3 separate regions of the Homo sapiens genome follow, and regions 2 and 3 are each linked to region 1. The links are contacts of gene promoters, found by promoter capture Hi-C in blood cells and fetal thymus (Javierre and others, 2016). All regions are on one chromosome and are shown on one strand. The core of a region is centred on a gene start or on the middle of the fragment in contact, and the rest is flanking DNA. Distances in the headings are between cores, read along the strand shown.

What was found. Contacts are between HindIII fragments. The CHiCAGO score rates a contact against its expected background, and 5 or more counts as called.
Region 2: a fragment that was not itself captured here is called in contact with the fragment with the promoter of MAP7 in region 1 in 1 of 17 cell types (fetal thymus); the score reaches 6.7 in fetal thymus.
Region 3: a contact is called between a fragment that was not itself captured here and the fragment with the promoter of MAP7 in region 1, in 6 of 17 cell types (M0 macrophages, megakaryocytes, M1 macrophages and 3 more). The highest score is 10.2, in M0 macrophages.

What each region holds. Positions count from the first base shown.
Region 1 is chr6:136,548,735-136,551,960 of GRCh38, reverse strand. It overlaps MAP7 (microtubule associated protein 7), which reads left to right and starts at 1,539. Exons shown (of 18, transcript NM_003980.6): 1 at 1,539-1,619. The coding sequence starts at 1,553. MAP7-AS1 (MAP7 antisense RNA 1) reads left to right here. Exons shown (of 1, transcript NR_186370.1): 1 at 1-1,238. RefSeq lists silencers at 1,238-1,587, 1,628-1,807, 1,818-1,867 and enhancers at 1,089-1,626, 2,165-2,703. The HindIII fragment of the contact is 6,247 bases long and covers 1-3,226 here.
Region 2 is chr6:135,449,598-135,452,823 of GRCh38, reverse strand. All of the region lies in intron 11 of AHI1 (Abelson helper integration site 1), which reads left to right. Among named protein-coding and RNA genes, the nearest start is that of AHI1, 47 kb to the left of the region's middle. The HindIII fragment of the contact is 915 bases long and covers 1,294-2,208 here.
Region 3 is chr6:135,502,660-135,505,885 of GRCh38, reverse strand. All of the region lies in intron 2 of AHI1-DT (AHI1 divergent transcript), which reads right to left. Among named protein-coding and RNA genes, the nearest start is that of AHI1-DT, 6.5 kb to the right of the region's middle. The HindIII fragment of the contact is 1,635 bases long and covers 694-2,328 here.

The DNA of each region.
Region 1 (3,226 bases), core at 290-2,789:
TTTTTTTTTTTTTTTTTTTTGGTCAAAGAAAGAACTCATTGGTTGATTTAAGTCGGTGGTAAATCAGAAAGTTGAAAATAAATCACCCTCCTTCTCCAGGGTTCTTCCGGATAGTTCAACTCTAAATTCAGCTGAGAGTATTTCTGATGCTCAAAGAAAAGTGTCTTAAACTCTGATGTTTTAATGTAGTTAAAAAAAACACAAAAAATCTTTGCTGAGGCCCAAGCTGAGGTCAAAAACTACCTCTAGCCATCTGGTGCTTTATTTTTATTGATTAGAAGTCTCTGATAAGACTGATTTGAATGTGATTTAGGAATATCACATTCTAAATGGTCAGTTTGCCTATTCCATTATAGAAATGACACTACGGGAAAATTCATCATCACAGACCACAGCAGAAGTGTTCTTTAGTTAAAGCTCTACCTAGTCATCCAGAAAGCCAGTAAGTAAACCAAATAAAAATAGTTCACTGGGCTCAGAGTGGCAAGTTTTGCATGCAAAGATCGTGAAAATTGTAACCCTAACAATAAATCCAATACTGTTCTCGACTCTCTTGTGTGTCCAGTGCTGCTGCAGTCCTTGGAAGGCTTTTAAACTGTTCAGAGCTTGCTGGTTATCTTCAGCCAAGCCAGAGAGTGGGAGTGCAGTGCATTTTAGTGTAACCATGCGGAACTGGTCGCTCCTTGATTTTGTGCCGTATGTTTCCATTTGTGTAGGCTTTTTCCCCCCTCAGTATTTTGTTGCTTATCCTTTAGAGCGAAATTGGTTTTTCCTCGGCCAATAATCTGTTTCTTTAAAAAAAGAAAAATTCGTTACCTATTGCCTTTTTTTCTGGTCTTCCTGAGCAAGCCAGAAGTCACAAGGTCGTTTACTAAACGGAAACTAAGAAAAAGAAAAGCCACATCAGCCGGCACAAGCCTCTCTAACTTGTGTGCCCTGAGGCTCATCAGATGCGAAGTCCTGGCGACAAGATAGGGTCGCCCGCAGTGGCTTCCTAAAGCGCAGATCCAGGCCGGCTCCCAGCGTGGAATCCGACCCATGTACTTCGCCTCTCCACGTGGCATCAGATGCTCTGCCGGCTGTCACCGTGAACTCCAGCCCTCGCGGAGCCGACACTGACCTGGCTACTTCAGAGTTCGGAGGGAAATAGCGTCTCCGTACCCTCGCCCCACCTGGGCTGCTCCTCGGACCGCCGCTCGTCCCAGACTCCAGGAGGCGCCACCAGGCCTCGCTGACCCCGCTCCATATCTCCGGGAGCCCTCAGCTGGTCGGCCGCGGCGACCGGAAGCTCCGGACTGAGGTACTGGTTCCGCCCGCCGCTCTTCCAGCCGAGACTCGGCAGCGGCGGTCGGAGCGGCTGCCACGCCGCACCTGCCCGCGAGGGGGCGCGCCAGGCCCAGGCCGCAGCCGACTGCCGCGCTCTCTGTCCCCGCCCTCCGCCATCCCCGGACTGCGCTCACCTGTCTGGGCCGCTGGCCTGGGAGGCGGGGGCCGGCGGGAGCCAAGCCGAGGAAAGGGCGGAGCGGCTCTCCGGGCGCGTCATCGGAGCACCATGGCGGAGCTAGGAGCTGGCGGCGACGGCCACAGGGGCGGCGACGGCGCAGTGCGAAGCGAAACAGGTGACCGCACAGCGGGGATAGTGGGGGTCCCGTCGGGCAGGGGACGGCGAGCGGGGCCGGCGGGCTGGCACCGAAATCACCCGGCGCCGGCAGCCCCCTCCCCGCCCGCGCGGCCGCGGCCCGGAACAACCGGCCCTGCGCGCCGCGCACCCTGCTCCGAGAGCGCCTTCCCCCGCCCTTCGCCGCCGCGGCTCGGCCAGCCCGGCTCGGCCCCGGCCGGGGTTGCGGCCGCCCTCGGGCGCTCCACCGCGACTTTCCCGCAACAGGTGGAGGCGAGCCGGGGGAGGAAACGGAGAGACCCCGGCCGCTGCCCTCCCCGCCGCGGCCTCGGGTCTAATTCAGTTGAATGGGAAATCGTATCCCCCAGACCAAACCAGTGGCCAGAGAGTCGTCGGCCAGGTGCGACTGGCAGGACGAGCAGTTTCTGGGCACCTCCTCCCGCCTTCCCTGGTCGCCCCGGGTGCCGGGGGCTCCTCAGCGGGGTCGGTGTGGGGCAGGACCGCGGGGTGAGCGGCCCGCCCCCCAATCTGGTGCCCGCAGTGGCGACGACCGTCGTCCGAGGGGACCGAGCTCGGGAGGGCCGGGGCCCAGTGCAGCACGGTGGGGGTTTGCGAGTGCGGGCTTGACGGGATCAGACTTTCGTTGACTTGTCGGAGTTCTCAGAGTTTTTTGTTTTTAGTCTGTGCAGGAGCCCAAAGGAGGATTGTTGGCTCTGCAGCCCGGGATTTGGTGGTCAGGCCTCTGTGTTGAGGATACCCCTCCCCCACAACCTCCAGGGGCACACTTAGGGACAGGGGATCACGTCCCCAAGACCAGCAGCAAGGCTTCCCAAGACCAGCAGCAAGGCTTCCCAACCCCGCCCATCTCTCCATAGTATGAAGCCGATTTTTCTCCCTCGTGATTTTTTTTTCTCCAGAGGCTATCTTGCAAATCCGTCCCTCTCCACTGGTTCCCTCTTCTATTCTTGGCCAGTAAGCTGTTTCTATATCTTCCTACACTTGGGGATGGGGGCAGTGAGGCAGTTTCTTACTTTAAAAAGAAATTCAATTCTTAGACTCTCCAATTGCAAGCTGTTTTCCACTTCCATACGGTCACAATCGGAAGCATTTGTTTCCTAAATGTAAGAATCACTGTCTCCCCACCATCAAGTATGCTTATTTTAACGTGAAAGGTCCAGAGAGCTCTGAAACAGTATTTGCAAATTATGTATCTGCTATTGCTAGGAAGAGGTTGGGTACGTAAAGTCTAATGATTTAATCCCTTCAGCCAAGATACCTGAGGTTAAGACTGACAAAGTATCTTGAACTTGTTTAAGTCATGCTCCTTCCTGTAGGGAGTTTGTCTTAATGTGTTCGCAAGATTGGTAGATCATTATTTTGTTTTGGGGTGGAGAAGAGATGCCTTTGTAATTGCTTTCGGGAATTTGATGAGCTAGACGCTGGGACGGGGCTCCCCCAAGTGAGGGCCCCGGGAGAGGAGCATCCTCATTTGTAAATATACGGCATGATTTTCGTTCCTAACCCTGACCCAGTAACTGCATGTGAAACAACATTGTTCTAGCGAGCTAAGTGTTAGTTTGTGCTCAAAAATAAACTTTCTAGAATCTG
Region 2 (3,226 bases), core at 502-3,001, 1.1 Mb after region 1:
GTAGAGGGTACAATATATGCAAAAACCCTGATATTTGAAGGAGCAGGGTTAATTCAGAAAATCAAAAGAAGGCCACCAAGATTGGAGGACAGAGACTAAGGGGAGAAGAATGGTGCATGAAGAGGTTGCTAAGGTCAACGGGATGTTAATTATGATGAGGTCTTCTCAGTCATTATAGCAAGAGGAAGCCATTATAGAATTTAAAGAGCAATGGGAAGCCACTGTGGGATTTTAAACAAAAGAATAAAATAATCTGATTTGTGTTTTAGAAAGATATATACTCTGTTATGTGGAGAACAGATTCTAGAGGGAGCAAATGTAGATACTTGAAAATCACATTAGGAAATTCTTAACAGTAGTCTAGGTAAAAAATGTCTTTGTACATTTGTCTTTGACTAGGTGTCTCTGACTAGGATGTCTTTGACGAGATGTTTCAGCAAAGATGAAAGGCGTAGATTGATGTTTAAAAAAGGATATTTTAATTTTGTAATTATCTTTTCCTTCAAACATCAATTTAAATTATGAAAAGTCTTGAGTAATTATTTTGTACCATCTTATAAAAACATTTTCATTTGTGAATCCATTCATTCAACAAATATGATCTATAAAATGTGAGACAGTCTGCTAAATTCAGTACATTCATAGATAAATTAGACATTGTATATAGCTGCCCTCCAATTTAATTTCTATACAGACCTGTTACCTACATTATTATGTGCTATAGAACAGATGCTGTTAAAATCCAGTTGAGACATTTAATCCATATTGGAGGTTAGAGAGAGATTTTAGAAGTTTTATAGTCAAAGGGCTGAACAGCCACCAGGTTGGCTATGGTGAGTAAGTAATTTGAGAGTGGCCTTAGCAATCACCTGGTCCAGTGTGCTATCGATGATCACCCTTTTATAAATCTGTTAATGCCTTTTTCCATAACACCTTCCATACTGATTTAGAGCAAAGAAAAAAAGCCATTAAAAAAAAAAAGCAAAAAACTCACTTTCACATAGTAAACAGTGCCATCGTGTGGTTTTATTAGAAACTGCATTTCTTTTATGCTAAGATTTGTGCAGACCTGCAGAATTTACTGTAAGTTGCACTTAGGAAGCAGTAACATATTTCAGGGCATTTCTACCTCTAAGTACTATATGGATTTTTATTTATTTATTCATCTTATGCCATTGGCAAAAATGGCAGTCAAGAATTCTTATCCCATCCCCACCCCCCAGAAAGAGTAAGGTATTCTATGTGCTTCACGTCTTCTAACACTTACCTGTCTTCTTCATTAGACTGTAAGCTTTTTAGAGTCACCAATGACTTCTTTTGGGTAAATATGTTGAACATTTTTAGTCCTTATTTTACTAGGTCTTTTTGCATTTAATATGTCACTCTCTTGAAACTCCATGCTATAATATCACCAGCTCCCAGCATATTAATGTCACATAGAAAGTGTTTGGTGAATATATATTGAGGGAATTAATCATTGATGATAGAAAGAGTGGCAAGGATAAAATTCATCTTCAAGAAAGTGGCATGACGGATGCAGTAGCTGACTCCTGTAATCCCAGCACGCTGGGAGGTGAGGTGGGCCGATCACTTGAGGTCAGGAGTTTGAGACCAACCTGGCCAATATGGTGAAACCCTGTCTCTACTAAAAATACAAAAATTTGCCAGATGTGGTGGTGTGCACCTGTAATCCCAGCTACTCGGGAGGCTGAGCGGGGAGGATTGCTTGGACACAGGGAATGGAAGTTGTAGTGACCTGTGATTGTACCACTGCACTCCAGCCTGGGTGACAGAGTGAGACTCCATCTCAAAAAAAAAGGGAAGTGGCATGAAGACAATTAAAATTTAAATCTTTTATTACCTATCCTGTTGGTACGAGGGATGTCTTGGATAATTGTTAAGTTATTACAGTAATTCAAATGAGACTTTATCCTAATTCTCAGCTATGCCTCAGATTCTCAGGTACTTTCAGTTCTTTTAGTACATATATGTGGCTATTCTTTTAAACTAAAAAGTAATAAAGCCTTATTTATCTGAGCTCTACATTATATAATTTATAACCATAATGGCAGGGTCTTGGCTGAATCTTAGTTGTTTACTCAGGCTAAGCAACGTATTAATGTAAACTAAATTGCCTGTTTAAATTAATCTATGGAAAGTATGATTTAGAAGCTGGGGAATATCTTTTTAAAATTACCGTGATAAGCTTTGGGGAGCTGTAGGAGAGTTTATCAAGGGAGTCTCGAGTGCTTATGATTTAATGACTGAACATATCTATTACTCAATTGGGAATGGTTCTTTACCCCTGTGTGTCATTTGACACTAATCACAATGTCACCCGCTCAGCTTATAACCTCCATTGTCTTTACATTCTTTCCTAAAGGGGTAGGGGAAAAGATGGGCTATATTTTGCCATCTCTTTTTCCTTGTTGATGCATCATTCCTTAACTTATCATTCCTGAACAACGTTCTGAATTTTGCCTCTGCCACTAAAGCTTCTCCAACCAAATCACTAGTGATTTCTGTTTGCTAAATATATTGAACATTTTTTAGTTATTTTGTCACATCTATGCATTTAACATATCACACTCTTGAAACTCTGTTACCTTGGTTTTCTTGACACCATCCTCTCCTAATTTTTCTTATACCATTCTTTGAGTTTCCTTCATGGTCTTCTACCTACCTCCTTAATATCAGTCTTACTCATGGTTTCATCTTTAACCCACTTTTCTTGGAACCACTTTTCTCACCTGTGCTTCAGATTTGTAAATTCAGTCACCTGCTGGACATTTCAGCTTGGATGACTTATAGATATGTCAGATTCCTCCAAACTGAGTATCCGTGCTACTCTCTCTGCCACTTCAATTGGTGGTACCACCATCTGTCCACTCTCCCAGATTTACGAACTTAGAGTTACACTGTTTTGGTAGCTACAAGTCACATGGCTGTTTGAATTCAAATTAAATATAATTAAAAATTTACTTTCACATTTGTGCTAGCCATACTTCAAGTGCAGGGTAGCCACATGTGGATTCCGTATTGGTTAGCACAAATTGGTTAGAGTATTCCCATCATTATAGAAAGCTCTCTTGGACAATACTATCTTAGAGCCTTTCTTGCCTCTTTGTTTTTTTTTACTTTCCAAGTTACATAAGTCTACAAGTAACAGTTGTTAAATGTGTTCCCTGCACTCAGTGCCTATTCTTCTAATTTAAGATATTAAGTT
Region 3 (3,226 bases), core at 262-2,761, 1.0 Mb after region 1:
TACTAGAGGGGCACTTGCTGATGCCAGGAATGTAGTCTTAGAATGCAATGGCCTCCCAAAGCATAGGATTCAAGGCCTTGCTCAGTGTGAGAACTAAGATGTTTGCATAAAAGTGGAACCCTTAAAAGATTACAGCAGCAAAGATAAACAAGGAAGTTTGTTTGTAGGGGCTAAAGTTCAGGTAGAGAAAAAAAAAATCTTCCCTCAAAATTATAACCATATCCTCTGTTTCATAGGATTTGGGTTCGAACCTATAGTAATCTGATAGGTTGGATATGGGGTATAAGAAAAGGAGAAAGGTCAAAGGTTATGATAAAAGAAAAACTTTAACTGAATTAAATTTAAAGGAATTTAATTGAGCAGTGAATGATTTGCAAATCAGACAGCCTTCCCAGACAGAGTAGGCTCGGAGACTCCAGCGCAGCCATGTGCTGGAAGATTTATGGACAGAAAAAGGAGTGAGGCACAGAAAATGGAAGTGAGGTACAGAACCAGCTGGATTGGTTACAGCTTTGTGTTTGCCTTATTTAAACATGGTTTGAATAGTTGACGACATTTGATTGGCCAAAACTTGGTGATTGGCCCAAGTGTAGGCTACATCTGGTTACACTTCTACTTGTTATAGTTTAAGATGTACAAAGAAACATTTAGGCTGAATTTAAAATATGTAAGGAGGTAGTTTTAGGCTAAGCTTGATTTAACAGTTACTCCAATGTATTTGGTGTTTGGCTTGAGTAACTGGAAGAATGGAGTTGTCATTGCTTGAGATGGAGAAAGTGGGGATTTGAGGAGGCAGATGAGGAATTCAGTGTTAGAAAAGTTAAGTTTGAGAATATGTCGGACATCTAAGTGGAGACATGTAATATACAGTTAGATTTATGAGTCTGAAGTTCAAGGAAGAATAATGGGCAGAAGGGATATATTTGGGAGTAGTCTACATGACAGTGGGACTATAGAACTGTAAGAAATCACTGAGTGAGTACGTGTAGATAGAGAAGTCCAGGAACATACCTCTGGGACATTCCAATATCAAGAGGTCAAGGTGATAGGCATGAACTAGTAAAGGAGCCCTAGAAAGAGGAAAAGCAGGAAAATGTGCAATCACCGGTTAGAAAATGTAATAAGAATTGGATGCATTCAAAATAGCACCAAAAATCTATAAAATGCTGAGGAATAAATAATAATATGAGAGACTTATAAGAAAAGTATCTTATTTTTTAAAAGCCACCATATCACCTTTTGACACTTTCACTATAATTGCTTAAAAACACTTTGGATTAGAAGTGATATAGCATAAAGCCATTAAAATGAATGGGGTAGATATATGTTACTGACATAAAAAGCCTTTTAGAAATAATAATACTTGATAAAGGACAAAAACAAGATGACAGGACAAAATCTATGGTAAGAAGTTATCTTTATAATTTAGTATATTTAGTATATGTATGAATGGAAGTATGAAAGAATGTATAGAAGACTGATCAGTGATTAAAAACACGGCTGACTTTCGGTTACCACATTATAAATATCTGAACGATTGTTTGAAATTTTTCCACGTGCACATAAGAACATTACTAACAAAGTTAGAATTTCCAGTGATGATTAAGTGGTGATATATACAGCATCTCCTTCTTATCTGCATGGGATATGTTCCAAGATCCCCAGTGGATGTCTGAAACTACAGGTAGTAGCAAAGCCTGTATTTACTATACTTGCATGCCTTTCTCAAAGTCAAATAAAACATAGAGTCAAATTTCCACATTTCAAACATTTTATTTGGGAAATGAGAATTGCATTTCCAGGCAAACACACAGAATGGGTGGTCTTCAGTATGTCTGAAAAACAAAGATCAGGTTGGAGGTTTTATAAAAAGGAAAAATGTTACCCATTGTTTTGCAAAGAAACAATGGGTAACATTTGGGGAGCTGGCGAGCTCTGATTGGCGAGTGATGGCAGTGGGTAAAACTAATCTTAGTGTCACAGCAGGTTATTTCATTAGCTATCAGATAAAACTGATTTCAGATTACAACAGGCAGTTTCAGTAGCTGGGCTTGTGGAAAATTTAATTCTTGGAGCAGATGCTATATGCCCCAAATGCTTTTTCCCCTGGGCCCTTCACTCTGATTTAGTTGGGTACAACAAGAATGACCCAATTTCTATAATCAACTTTCACACCTCTCATAAAGTTTAATTTATAAATTAGGCCCAGTAAGAGATTAACAGCAATAACTAATAACAATATAAAGTTTTTATAACAATATACTGTATTAATAGTTATTATGTAAATGTAATCTCTTATTTTCTCTCTAAAAATTTTCAAACCAAGCTTGTTGAGTGAAACCTCAGAAAGCAAAACCATGGTTAAGGGGGCACTATTGTAATAGCATGGAAATGAAATTGCAACATAATGTTCATTCAAGTAAGCAGAAATAAACATTTTACACACAACATGACCAAAATTAAAATACGCATGGAAAACAGACTGAAACGAAATTTGTCAAAAAAGTTAATTTAGATTCTCTTGGGTAGTGGTATTGAGTATTTTTTCCTTTTTTTCATGATTCTACATATTTCAAATTATCTATAATACATATATTCTTACTTTTATTTTTCCTGCTTATTATAAAAATTTCCAAACACACAAAGGAAAAAGTATAATGAAATACTAGGTACCTACCAGCCAGCTTCAACAACCATCAAAATTTAGATATACATGTGTCATTTCCTCTCACCTTTTAAAAAAATCTAGAATATTTTAAAGCAAATCCTGGACACCTTATCATTCTGTTCTGTGCACGTAAGTCATACTCTACATAACCACACCAACATTATTTTACCTAATGAAATTAATAAACATTTCTTAACATCTTCTAAATATTTAGCCCATAACAAAAAATCTGATTGCCTAAAACATGTTTTTCTATAGTTGGTTTATTTAAATTAGAATCCAAACAAGGCCCATTCATTCCATCTGTTATGGCTCCAGAACCCTCTCCAATAGTGTCATGGACTCAGTTATGCCCCAGTTCCAAATGCATATGTTGAAGTTCTAACCTTAAAGTACCTCAGAATGTGCCTGTATTTGAAGACAGAGTCTCTAAAGAGGTAATTAAGTTAAAAGGAGGTCATTAGGGTGAGCCCTAATCCAATATGACTCTGTCCTTATAAGAAGAGATTAAGATACGGGCAGGTACAGAGGGAAGTGCAGGTGAAGACACAGGGAGAC